Linked DNA regions of Homo sapiens: all the other regions are linked to region 1. The links are contacts of gene promoters, found by promoter capture Hi-C in blood cells and fetal thymus (Javierre and others, 2016). All regions are on one chromosome and are shown on one strand. Each heading gives the region's core, a stretch centred on a gene start or on the middle of the fragment in contact. The rest is flanking DNA. Distances are from core to core; before and after follow the strand shown. Region 1 holds the start of NPHP4 (nephrocystin 4). Region 2 holds the start of CEP104 (centrosomal protein 104). Region 3 holds the start of WRAP73 (WD repeat containing, antisense to TP73). Region 4 holds the start of SMIM1 (small integral membrane protein 1 (Vel blood group)).

Evidence for each region. Contacts are between HindIII fragments. The CHiCAGO score rates a contact against its expected background, and 5 or more counts as called.
Region 2: the fragment with the promoter of CEP104 here is called in contact with the fragment with the promoter of NPHP4 in region 1 in 1 of 17 cell types (fetal thymus); the score reaches 5.6 in fetal thymus.
Region 3: the fragment with the promoter of WRAP73 here is called in contact with the fragment with the promoter of NPHP4 in region 1 in 3 of 17 cell types (fetal thymus, endothelial precursors and neutrophils); the score reaches 7.3 in fetal thymus.
Region 4: the fragment with the promoter of SMIM1 here is called in contact with the fragment with the promoter of NPHP4 in region 1 in 1 of 17 cell types (endothelial precursors); the score reaches 6.5 in endothelial precursors.

What each region holds. Positions count from the first base shown.
Region 1 is chr1:5,990,829-5,993,801 of GRCh38, forward strand. NPHP4 (nephrocystin 4) reads right to left here and starts at 1,597. Exons shown (of 30, transcript NM_015102.5): 1 at 1,416-1,597. It also overlaps a transcript of KCNAB2 not described here. RefSeq lists enhancers at 166-1,020, 2,897-2,946 and silencers at 1,097-1,276, 1,427-1,596, 1,637-1,816, 1,897-2,146. The HindIII fragment of the contact is 3,854 bases long and covers 1-2,635 here.
Region 2 is chr1:3,855,901-3,858,930 of GRCh38, forward strand. It overlaps CEP104 (centrosomal protein 104), which reads right to left and starts at 1,311. Exons shown (of 22, transcript NM_014704.4): 1 at 989-1,311. It overlaps DFFB (DNA fragmentation factor subunit beta), which reads left to right and starts at 1,576. Exons shown (of 7, transcript NM_004402.4): 1 at 1,576-1,817; 2 at 2,818-2,944. The coding sequence starts at 1,704. RefSeq lists silencers at 978-1,477, 2,408-2,457 and an enhancer at 1,618-1,797. The HindIII fragment of the contact is 29,508 bases long and covers 1-3,030 here.
Region 3 is chr1:3,648,784-3,652,063 of GRCh38, forward strand. It overlaps WRAP73 (WD repeat containing, antisense to TP73), which reads right to left and starts at 1,320. Exons shown (of 12, transcript NM_017818.4): 1 at 1,148-1,320. The coding sequence starts at 1,216. RefSeq lists an enhancer at 1,541-2,384. The HindIII fragment of the contact is 11,564 bases long and covers 429-3,280 here.
Region 4 is chr1:3,771,047-3,774,200 of GRCh38, forward strand. SMIM1 (small integral membrane protein 1 (Vel blood group)) reads left to right here and starts at 1,703. Exons shown (of 4, transcript NM_001288583.2): 1 at 1,703-1,742; 2 at 2,017-2,135. CCDC27 (coiled-coil domain containing 27) reads left to right here. Exons shown (of 12, transcript NM_152492.3): 12 at 355-599. The coding sequence ends at 477. RefSeq lists enhancers at 86-764, 2,051-2,566, 2,567-3,082 and a silencer at 1,110-1,989. The HindIII fragment of the contact is 1,777 bases long and covers 937-2,713 here.

The DNA of each region.
Region 1 (2,973 bases), core at 347-2,846:
TCCCCACCTGTTTCCAACCTCCAAAATGAGAGCTGTGAAATCTCCTTGAGATCTCTGCTTCTGCTGATCTATTCAGCAACTATTTCCCGAGCACTTGTGTTCCAGTGCATAAGAAGGCTGTCAAATGTGCTGTCTTCAAGCATCTAGAAAGCCAGTGGGGGAGAAAGACAAGAAAGTGACTGTGAGCAGCAACAGGCCCCCGGGAGGGTGCAGAGGTGAGCAGGGCTGAAGGAAGATGCAGGGGGTGGGAGGCGCTGTCAGGGTCCGGGAAGCCTCCTTCCCGGAATGGAAAATGTGTAATGCCTGAGACCCAGATGCCTTGGGGAGCTTTTGGGGAAGCAGAGGTCTGATTAAGCACTGCCTGGAATTCCCTCATTCATGAGCATTCTTTCAGCACCTACCCTGCGCCCGGGAGAAACGGTCTTGAACACAGCAGACAAGCTCGCTACCCCCATAGAATGTAAAGAAACGGGGCACAAATTAGCATACAAAAAGACACAAGTGTGACCTACGGAAACTGCACAGAGGAGGTGCAACGAACGGAGCCCTGGGTTAGGACCGGGAGGCGCTGCCCACCATCAACAGAAATACTCCTCCTTTTGCCAACTACACACGCGAGAGGCTGGATTTCCTTCACAGACGTCCACCAAAGCCACACATCGCGACACACGGAGGCAGAAAGCAGCGGTCTCCTAAGAAGTTAGACACGAGGAATCTCGGGCAGCGAGGTGCCTGCAAGCCCGGGGGCGGGCGGGAGCAGCCTGCACGCGTGGGGAAGGGCACGCGGGAGCGGGTGGCGCCTTCCGGGCCGGGTCGGCCGGGAGGTTCCAAGGCAGGAAAGGGGCGCAGAAGGCCGGGACGGCGCCGGGTACAAAGCCTCGCAGGGACGCCCGAAGGCCGCAGAGCCACCGCGGGGAACTGACAGCCGGAGCCGGAGCTGGAGCCGGGGGGCGGGGAGGAGGGGCGGAGGGGCGCGGCCAGGCGGGGTCCGCGGACTCCGGCCTGGGAAGGATGCGCGCGGACTAGGGCGCGGGGAGCCAAGGCCCAGAACATCGGTACCGCGCTCCCTTCAGCCGAGGGGCTGCAGAGAGGCCAGGGGGCAGGGGGCAGGGGGCAGGGGGCAGGGGGCAAAGGGCAAGGGCAGAAAGGAACCCACGTAGCCAAACGGCACCCAGCGGCCCCGACCCCAAGTGTCCCGACGAGGGGGGACGCCTGCGACTAACGCGGGGACAGCCCCCGCCGCGCGCCACCGCCGCACCCCAGGCACCGGGCCCCCACGCAGGGACGGCGTGGACCACCCTACCCCCGAACCCCGAGGCTCTGGCCAACACTGAGGCCCCCTGTGCCTCGAGGCCGCGTCCAACCTCCCCCGCGGCGCCGGCCCACATGGTTCCGCCCGCCGCGGGCCGCGTTACCTAGGAGACCGACCCGCCGCGGCCGCGCCGGAGGCCACGGAGCCCACGCTTTTCAGAGAGTCTCCACTCGACGGACCCAGAGGCCCGGCGGCCGGTGCTCAACGGAGCCACAAGCCTGAGGACCGAGGACTGGCCGAGGGGCGCGCCCCGTCCGCTGCCACCCGCGGGAGGAGCCTCGGAAGGCGGCGCACCGCGCCGCACACTCAGTCCAAGAACCCGCCTCGCGTCACTGTCGCCGTCAGGGCCGCGGAGCCAATCAGAGCCCAAGTCGAGGGCTGCGCTTTGCGAGCGCCAGCCAATCGGTGCGGCGGCGGGCCCATCCTGATTTGCATGTCCGACGACCCCTCAACCAATGGTAATGTGACTGGCGTGAACAATAGCCAATCAGAAGCTGGAAGAGGCGTGGCCCCGGGCGTCCCACGAGGTGAAGATGCTGCTGGCGGAACCTGCAGGAGCTAGCGGGATTCGGGGGCGCTAAAGTCGCAGGGGCAGGGCGGGAAGGAAGATCCGGCGCGGGGCACAGGATCCGGAGCTGGAGCCCCCAGGTGAGTACCGGGGAGACCCCGGCGGGGCGCGCTTTCCACCAAGCTGCTCCGGGACGGCGGCGGCGGGTATCCGCGAGGCCCGCGCTGCGGCAGGCGCCGCGGTCCCGTCTCCATCTCTTCTTCCCCGGCCCTGCGTCCCTGCCTCCGCCGCTGTCTCACCTCCTCTCCAGCCTCCTCACCTCCTTCTCCATCGTCTCCCTTCCCCCATCCCTTTCTGTCTTTCCTTCCCTGTCCTCCCGCCCGCCCGACCCTTCAGCTCGCATCCCTGACCCCTGCCCCTGCCGCCGTCCCTCTTCCCGGTGCACCTCTTCCCCATCTCTGCCCGCTCCGGTCCTAGCAGCCTCGCCCTCCCCTTTCCTCCATCCTCCTCTCATCCCCTCTCCCGGCCTCTGCGCAGCCCCACCGGGGCGCTGCTGTTCCCGGTCCTCCCCATCTCTCCTCCTGATCGCTTCTCAAGGCTCATCCGTCGTTCTCGCTGCCTGTCCCTGTGTCGCTCCGGTCCCTTTCCCCACCCTCCCATTCTGCCCCCAGCCCCTCCGACCTCTCCCCGCGGGCACGCTCTCACCACCTTACCCTGCTCCCCAAGACTGTGACCCTGCTTCCTGCACCAGTTCCTCGGGCTGTTTACAGCACACACACCGCCACTTCTGACCCTGAGCCCCTACTCCTATCTTAAGCTTCTCCCTCCTGCCAGGCCTTGGCACAAAGCACTTCCGCACCTCCCTACCTGCTGCTGCTCCCAGGATGCAAAGACCCCACTGCTGCACCGCGTCCTGCGGCATTAGCAGCAGCCGGGGTACCTGCCCACCTTCCCACCCCGCCAACCAGCCGCATCCTGGTGTCCCTCCTCCTGGCATTTGTCCTGGGGGCTCTTACAGGGACTGTGCTTTGCCCGCAGCATCCCGGGGTGCTCCAGGTGGAAAGCCCCTTAGCACCTTTCCTCCCTGGCCACCGTCTCCTTCCCTCCCCACCCCCACTTTCCTGCTCAGCCTCACTTTGTGATTCAGCATTTT
Region 2 (3,030 bases), core at 61-2,560, 2.1 Mb before region 1:
CAGGGGCAGCCATCGACATCCCGACAAATGCCAGAGTACATCTCTCCCCAGGCAGCGATGACTCCATGGCGGTCTCATCCCTCACTACACTTTTCCTAGTGCTGGCATGGTAAAAGGCAATTAACTATAAATTAAACGGAAACTCAGTGTAGCAACTTCCATTTTGTTACAAGACTAGGAAACAAAACTTGTCTCTGATTTTCTTTTTAAGAAGACTTTTAAGTGTGACTGCGCGCGGTGGCTCATGCCTGTAATCCCAGCACTTCGGGAGGCCGAGGAGGGCGTATTACTTGAGGTCAGGAGTTCGAGACCAGCCTGGCCAACATGGTGAAACCCCGTCTCTACTAAAAATAAAAAAATTAGTCGGGCTACTCGGGAGGCTGAGGCAGGAGAATCGCTTGAACCCGGGAGGCGGAGGCTGCAGTGAGCTGAGATCGTGCCATTGCACTCCAGCCTGGGCGACAGAGCGAGACCGTCTCAAAGGCTTATGGGTTTCTGATCAAGTCATCTTAGCGACTGAAAGGGCTTCAGAGAAATCTGAACTTAAGTGCAAACAAAACAAAACAAACTCCAAAACAAAAAACAACCAACCATCAGACTTTAATCTCTATAGGGACAGAGCAATTTTCCTCAAACTTTTGCTCAGCAGAACACATCTGAAACTGGCCCCCTATGTGCTACGCATCCAGAAGAGGAAAAGCCGGATCTGAAAACAATATTCCACGCTAAATGGGCCGTCCCGGCCGGGGCAGGCGGTCCCAGCACCCGTGCTGAGCTCCCCGGCATACGGCACGACGGGGCCGCGCCGGCTCTTCGGCGACAGCAAGGCCGGCATCTAACTCCACACCGTCCGCGCTTGCACCGCGCACCCAGGCTTCGTACCCAGCTCCCAGGTGGGGACCGCGCCCCCGCGGCGCCCGCGCCCCGCGCCCCGCGCCCCGCTCCCCACTCCGGCCCTGGGCCGGCGCCGCAGCGGCCCGGAAGGTACCTGCTTAGAGGGAAGGGCCCCGACTGGCGCTGCCGCGGCCCCGGTGGAGAGGGCGGCTGGGTCGGAGCGGTGCCGCGGCCCGGGGAGGCGGCCAGGCGGCGCCTCAGCACCCGGACCCCAGGGGCGTGCGGGACCCGGCTCTCGTGGACTTCCTCGGCAGCCGCCGCTTCCTCAGACGGAACTCGGGGGGCGCCCCTTCCGCCGCCCCAGGCCGCCTTGCACCCCAAGCTGCTGCGGCAGTGACAGGGAAGAAGCAGACCCGGCCACCTCTGCCCATAGCCCCGGCCGCAGCCTCCACTCTCATGACAACCAAGCCCAGCCCTGGGCCAGGGCCTCTGCGCGTGCGCGACCCCGCCCCACCCCAGGCCGCGCCTGCGCACAAGGGGAGGGCTCCGCTACTCTGGCCCTCAGGGTTGTGTAGTTTCCGGGGCCACGGCACCTGGGCACACCAGGTGGCGTCGCGCCTTTGCTTTCCTGAGCCTTCTGAGTAAGGTAATGTGGTGTCCGTGGGGCGACGCCTGCGCACAAGACCGCGTCGGGCCTCACTTTTCCCAGGCCTTCTGGGTAATGTAGTTTCCGGGATCGGCACCCGGCCTGTGCCAGCTTGCAGAGCTCACCAGGTGCAGACCCCTGCGGCCAGGGCGAGGACGGATCTGAGCAGCTGGGCAGCAGGTGCCACCGCCTGTGGGACCCAGAGGGCTTGAGGACATCTGCAATGCTCCAGAAGCCCAAGAGCGTGAAGCTGCGGGCCCTGCGCAGCCCGAGGAAGTTCGGCGTGGCTGGCCGGAGCTGCCAGGAGGTGCTGCGCAAGGGCTGTCTCCGCTTCCAGGTGCCCGCTGGGCTAGGCGGGGACGGCCCGTCGGGGAGGCGTGTGGGGAGAATAGGAGGTGCCGCTTTTCCTCTTCCAAAACGGAGGGTGCAGGCGGCGCCCGGGGCGGGTAGTTTTCGTTCGCCTCAGCCGCTAGGACCCCGGGCCCCCGCAGCCTGGGGTTCCTGAGCGTGGCTTCAGAACGCAGGGGGGTTGGGGGACGACCTGGATCACCCCTTCCCTCTTCCCACCTCTCGGGCAGGACAGCCCTGCATCAGAGCTAGGAGACCCGGGTAGAGTGCCAGGTACTGGCACGCGGGGTCACGGCTGCTCTGCCTGTCCGGCCTCAGCTTCCCCTTGAGTAACATGAAAGGCTTGGCTAGGTGGGCTCTGCAGGCCCCTTCCAGCCCTCGCAGCTGGGGATTGCAATCGTCACCTTATTCTAGGTTGGTTTTCTTTTTAGACCAGTACTAGGGTTACCAGGTGTGCATTGCCGGGGTCGGTGCGGGTGGGGTGGGAGTAGCCATAAAATGCCTAAAACTGACCAGTGCAGAGTAACAGGGAACCGGACTCCAACAAATTAACAGTGCCACGTGCCGGTCACACTTGTGCACAGAGGCAACCAACCGTTCTCCTTCGTGTGCCAGCACCGCTCTGGCGGCTGTGTGCTGGGGATGGTGGTGTTCAGCTCCTGGCAGCAGGGAGGCGGCGCTGTCAAAGACAGGCTCTATTTGAAGCGCCCTCAGGAGCTCATTTAAAAAGGGTGAATCCTGCAGAGCCAGCAGTCACCCCCTGATGTATGTTTTTCCTGACTCTTCGTATTTTAGAACGGCCCGCAGTCAGGCGCCCTTGCTCCCGCTCCCTCATCCTTGCCTGGGCGTTGGAGCGACTGTGGCATACAGGCGGCAGCCTGAGCCTGCTTCTTTAAGCACAGCTCATTCCGGTCGTTTGTGAGGCCTGCAGATGCAAAGCCCTCGTCTTGAGACCCTTCCTCCTCCTGTTGCTTCTCCCGTCCCTGCAGCTCCCTGAGCGCGGTTCCCGGCTGTGCCTGTACGAGGATGGCACGGAGCTGACGGAAGATTACTTCCCCAGTGTTCCCGACAACGCCGAGCTGGTGCTGCTCACCTTGGGCCAGGCCTGGCAGGGCTGTGAGTGGCAAGGACTTTGGAGGTGGGCGGGAAGCTGGCACTCTCCGAGGTCCTGGGGGCTTAGCTCCAGGTGCCCATCAGGGTGG
Region 3 (3,280 bases), core at 70-2,569, 2.3 Mb before region 1:
AACAAAAAACAAACCTCTCATTTAATTGAGGAGGGGGGCACATTGAAAATATACCAAGGCTGAGATGCCATTTAAACTAATGAGGTTTTCTGTTTTGTAGCTGATGCTATTTTATGTGATTTGGAATAAAACCTCCCTGAAGAGGTAAAAAACGTAATTTGAGAGTTAAACTCTCAAAAGCTAGACAGAGCACAGGAATGTCAGGAGTGGCAAAACCTGAAAAAGCATCATGATACATCAGTCAGTTAGTACAGGTGGTGGATAAGGAAAACGAAGCCCACTTTTTACGAGGCATGTTTCTTCTTAGTGGCTTTCCAATGCCAATTGTCCCCCTCTTCTGAGGACATACATACTAGGCATCCGGGTTATCCCTCTCTTCTGAGGATATACACTACTAGGCATCCAGGTACATACACTATATGTTTTGAAGCTTAAAGTTATAGCTCTGTGATTTAAGCACCCTTCTGCCACCCATGGAACGAAGACCTCAAATCCCAGCCATGAGGACAACTACTTCCTTACCTGGGGATAGAATACTAGTATTTAAATCATTTATTCGGCATGTGGTAGAGGAGAAGAGAATTAGAGGAGAAGTAGAGATGACAAAGTAGCCACACCACTTACCAGTTTACAGGCAACAGAATCATCAATTTGCCTTTTGTGACAAAGTAACAACAAAGAGCCGACATCTCCTATACCCTCACCTGTGTGCAGTCGGCACTGCCGATACCCACCTTTCCAAGGGCACCTCCCCAGACCCCCCACCTGTCTACGGTATCTTCCTGGGTCCCGCACCTGCCCGGGCACCTGCCGGGGTCCTGCACCTGTCCGGCCCCCATATCTGCTTGGGGTACCTGCCTGGGCCCCGCACCTGCTTGGGGTACCTGCCTGGGCCCCGCACCTGCTTGGGGCACCTCCCCGGGCCCTCCACCTGTCTAGGGTATCTTCCTGGGTCCCGCACCTGTCTGGGGCACTTGCTCAGACACTGCACCTGCCCCGGGTACCTGCCCGGGCCCCGCACCTGTCCGGGCACCGCACCTGCAGGATCCCCAAGCTGCCTCCACCCACGCGGCCGCCCCCGGCCCTGCCCGCCGGGGACGCTGGCACCGAGGATGTCCTGCCCGTGGCCCAGGTCCCCGCCGCTCACCAGGTACTTGCCGTCCGGGGAGAACTTGCAGAGTAAGCTGGAGAGCTTGAATACCTCGGAGAAGTTCATGGCCGCCGCCTGCCGCGGGCGCCACCCTGCGCCCGAAAACCCGCGGGACCCCTGGGCGCGCAGCAGGCTGCAACAGCCGACGCCGGCCTCCGAGGCCGGAAGTCAGAAGGCGGAAGTGAACTGCAGCCTATCAGCGCCGCCGGCTTCCGCGCGGCATTGTGGGGCTTGTAGTTCTTGTGCCGCAGGGCTTTAAAGGAAACGCCCACGTTTCTTCCGACCAGGGATTTCCGACCCGAGAACCTTACCTCAAAGGCCGGGAGGCCTTTGAGCACCTCCAGCTAGGGCTGCTGATAAAAATGTAGAAAGCACAGTAAAATTTGAATTTCAGATTCACAACAAATCTAGTTATAAGTATGTTCCCAAATATTGCACGGGACATGCTAATACGGAAAAATTACTCGCTAGTCTGAAATTCAAATTTAATTGAGCGACCTGTGTGTCTGCGTGTGTGTACACATGCATATATATATATTTATATTTATATGTAAATGTATGTTTACATGTAAATATATGTTTACCTACAAATATATCTTTAATAAGTAATACGGTGTCTGTCGCACATATATTATATCGTGTATGTAATGTATAAGTATTTATTTCGTTTGCTTGGGGTTTTGTTTGCTTTTGCTGAGTCCGACCCCTCTACCTGCCGCCTGGCCCTTGCCTCACGCTCCAGTGCCACTGAGATCAAGGAGAGAACGAATTTGCCGCTGACTGGGCAGAGCGAGCGCGTGGATCGCGGCCACCGCCCGTTCATCACCCGCGCGCATCTGGGCTGGCACCGGGCGAAGAATCGTGCGGGTCTGGGACCTGGGGGCCCAGAGGGAGCGAGCTCCTGCGCGGGCGCTCGGTCCGCAGGTTTCGCAGGCTCAGGGGCGTGCCTCGTTCTCACCCCCACTCCGGACCCCGGTCCTCTTCCCTAGACAGCGGCCCCCTCCACCCCTGGCTCCCGCAGGCCGCTAGTAGTCCGCGCCAGGCCCCGCCGGCGCCTCTAGGGCCCCCCAGATCGCGCAGACCCTGACATCCCCGCCTGGCCCTGGGTTCTGGGAGCTGAGAGCCGGCCAGGGTCCTGCTCGTACCTCCGGGCGCCCAGCCTCGGGTCTGCTCCCCGCGGACGCCCCAACCTCCCCGGCCGAATGGATGGTGGTGCGCGCGCGTCCTACTCCGGCGGTGCCGGCCTTTTCTGTTGCCAAAACTAGACCCAAACCTCTGCATGGGATTCGTCTTTGGGTCCCCACCCCGTGCGCCCAGCAAACAGTGGGTGAGCCATGAAGATGTGCGAGTCAGCCGGACCCTCCCCGTCAGGCGCGGACCCGCTGCGGCCAGAGAACCCAGTCTGCGCCAGCCCGGCTCGCTCGCGAAGCCACGGGCTTCACTGACGCGACTTTCCAAGACGTGGGGGTCACCATGGGCAGAGGACATCGGTTCGGAGCCAGATCACGGGCCCCATAAGCATCAGACCATAAGCAGCGCCGCCACTGAGAGCCGCTCGGAACTCGCCCAGCATGTCGGGTCCCCTAGCCAGGGCCTGGTGTACGTGGTCGAGGGCCCTGGAAGCCCCGATGGCCTAGGAGGAGCAGGCGGGCGGGGCGGCGGGTGTCGCTGGCCGGTAGAGAGCTTCGGCCTGACCTAGCGCAGGTCTGGTGCGCGCAGAGAACAACTCCAAGCGCACCGACGCCCGCGAGCTCCTTCCAAACACCGAACGGGATCCAGAGCCCGAGCCCACAGGCGGCGGCCGGGGGAGGGAGCAGGGTGCTGGCCGCCGCCCGGGAGTGTTCGCGTCCTGGGTGACCCCTGGAAGGACGTGGGGCCCAAACTCCGGCTGGGGTTGGGAGAGCAGCCCCCAGAGGCTCTCCGCGGGATCCTCTGCCGGGCGGGACCGTGGCTCCACAGGAGAAGTGGGTGGCAAGCCCTGCTTGGCGGAAAGCAGCCGTTCCCCTCCTCCTGGGCCTGGGGCGGCGCCCCTCACCCCTGTTCCCCGCCCCTCACCCCTGTTCCCCGCCGGCCACATCCCCTGCCCCTTGGATTCCAAGCGCCCCGCGCGCCGAGGAGCCCAGCGCTAGT
Region 4 (3,154 bases), core at 453-2,952, 2.2 Mb before region 1:
ACAACTCTAAGAGGGCTGAAGAGGGGGCTTAGTGCAGGCTTCTGCGGGCTGGTGGTGTGCACCTGCCCCCGGCTCCGCATTCTGTGACTTCACTTCCGTGGCTGAAAATCAGCCACTGTGGGAATATTCCCACCACAGAAACTGGCAACGCCACAAAGCCGAGGGTTGTTTGTTTTTTCTCCCCCTGGAGAGCCGGTTGTAAGTATTCACCAGCACACCCCTGCTGCAGCAAGCCTCTCTGGAGGAGGAGGAGAGGGTGGCGTCCCGGGCAGCTGGCACGGACTGTGCAGACCGGCCTCAAGGCCAAGGTGAGGAACTGGGAAGGCCACCTCGACGGCTGTGTTTCTTGTGTAGAGAATTATCTCAGAGAGAAGCGACTACTATAATCAGCTGAAGCAGAAAGGCGTCAAAGTGCCCCCCCTGCAACAGTCAGAGGCCTTCCTGACCAGCAAATCCAAGAAGGGGACCTCCAAGTAGGCCCAGCCAGGCCCCCAAATACGGTCAGCCCAGCAGAGGCCGGGGCCCAGCTCCAGAACCACCCGCCCCCACCATGCGTCCTGCTCTCAGACTCAGAATTAAACCCCGGTGTTGGCACTGTCCCACCTTTTTCTTCTCTGGGATCCACGCGGGGGCCTACTCTCCTCTGCGACCTTGAGCTACAAGGACACTCCCCATTCCAAAGCTCACTCACAGGGAGTCAGCACACCAGCCTGTGCCCCTAGCTCCTAACAGGTCCCCTTGCGGCACCAGGCTGCCAGAGGCCTGAGCCGGGGTGTCCGCCCAGCACTCAGCACAGACCTCACGCCTGAGCAGAAGGGGTCTGTGACCTTCTGCCCTGGGGGCTCTCCTGGCTGGGGCACTCTCTTGCTGGAGGACCCCTCTGGAAGATGGTGAGGGTGGGGGGCTCTGTTCCCATCCCCCCGCTCCTGGAAGGAAAGCTTTACGCACGGGAACGGTGTCTGTGGTCCCCGACGCTTCCCCGGCGCCTCTGAGGCTCTGGGCGCCTGAACACCTTCGGAAGGGACTCTCCCCATTACCCTTCTCTGCTCCCCACCCACACCTGCTTCCCTTCCCGCCGCGAGCACCGAGCGTGGGCCACGTGCGGGCGCCACGCCCCTCAAGCCCCGGAGGAGGACGGTCCCCGCGGCCGGGTCCCCGAACCCAGCATTCAGGCCCAGACGCGCCCAGAGCCTCCCGCAGTCTCGTCGGCGCTGCAGCCGGGTCCCCGCGGGGCTGGGAGGCTCGTGGCGTCGGAGGGGCTCCAGCAGGGGTGAAGGAGGTCGGGGACCCTGGAGGCCCCAAGGGCGAGCCGTCTGGGGGCAGAAAGTGCAGCCCTCTGCAGACCCTGCCCGGCCCCCCTGCACCTCCTGGCCCCGGGGCTGGGCGGCCTAGAGCCCCGGCCCCTTCCGGACGAGGCGTCTCCCGGCCCCACTCGCCCCGCCCCCAGCCCCTTCTGGACCAGGCGCCTCCCCGCTGCGGCCCTAGCCCTTCCCCGCATGGCCCCGCCCCCCTCTCGCCCCGCCCCCTCTCGCCCCGCCCCCGGCCCCTTCTGGACCAGGCGCCTCCCCGCTACTGGCCCCAGACCTTCCCCGCATGGCCCCGCCCACCACTCTAGCCCCGCCACCTTCCGGACCAGACACCTCCCCGCTGCTGGCTCCAGCCCTTCCCCGCGTGGCCCCGCCCCCGCCCTCGCCCCCTGCCCAGGCCCGGCCCCTGCGGAGCCCAGAGACGCGGGGACACAGGTGAGGCGCGCGGGGTCCGGGCTGCGGCTTCCCGGTGCGGCCGCAGTGGGCAGGTGCGACTGTGCGCGGCCTCGCTGGCTGAGAACTGGCGGGGGTGGGGGCGTGCCCTGGACTGACCCCCACCGGCCTAACCCGCGGTGCGGGGCCAGGGCCGGAACTGCCCGCCCGGCTCCTTGCCCGGCTCCTTGTGGCTGCTGGGGACCCCCGACACCAGCCACTTTCCCTTCCCGGCCCTTAGCAAGATCGGCTTCTCCGGTCACCTTTATTTTTTTAGGCTCGAGGCGTCTGCCGCACCTCAGCCCACGACCTGCCCCGCTGGGAGGTGCGGGCCGCTGGCCAGGCCCTGACCGCAACCTGGCCCAGAGGCCCCAGCCCTCAGGCAAGGTTCTCCGGGTAAGTGTGGGGCCCTGAGGCGCTGTGGGGTGAAGAGGTCTATGGAGGGGCGCCTGTGTACCTAGGGCCTTCCTGCACTCACAAGCCCCCAGGAGGTGCCAGGATCCGGGAGCCTCCCAGGGCCTGGAGGGGAGTCCCTGATGGGTTCCTGCCGCCACACCTGTGACCATCACATGAGTGTGGAGAGACGTTTACTGAGCAAGTGAGGGAGGCCAGCCTCAAGGGCCGGCTCTGGTGGCTGTGCACCGGGGTGACTTGGGAACAACGTGTTCTACGTCAGCAAGACAGGAACCCATGATCCCAGAGTTGAACACACTGGGCTTGACCCCTCCCACCGGGAGGCCCATGGTGGGCTGCTGCTGTGGACTTGGAGCCTCAGCACTCCCGAGACTAATGCTGCGTGGATGTCGGGTTGCAAGGCGGCTGCTGCAGCTCCAGCAGCTCCAGCCATCACGTCGAGTCTGGAAGAAGGAGGTGGCTGCTGCTGCTTTCACAGAAGCAAACTCTCCCATCCCCTGCTGCACCCTGGCTCCTGGACCCCAGCTGGGTGACTTGGGAAAGCAGGGGTGGTGGTATTAAGCTTGTCTTACCCGGGTCATGGCTGTTACCTGGGGCTGGCACATTGCTGCTGGGACCAGAATGGGATTCTGCACACCAGGCAAGAGGGCGTGAACCTCGGGTAGGCAGCTGACCGCTCCACATGCTCCGGGAAAACAGCACCCATACTCCAGTAGAGGCTGGGCCTCTCCGGGCCTGAGTGCCAGGCTGCACTGAGCCAGGGCTCCCACCGAAGGCACACTTTATGGCTTTGAGACAGCTCCTTCTGCCTCTCTGGGCTTTGGGGGAAGGCAGACATGGAAGTGCCGGGAGTCTCAGAACTGCCTGGGGCCTGAGTTTCTGAGCTGGCTTCTTGCAGGGGAGTGGCTGCTGTGCCTTTAGGCCTCTGTGCCGATGACCTGGGAGGAAGGTCAGCCTTCCCCGCTGGAGGGGGCCCAGCAAAGCCTCAGCTCCTAGAAGTG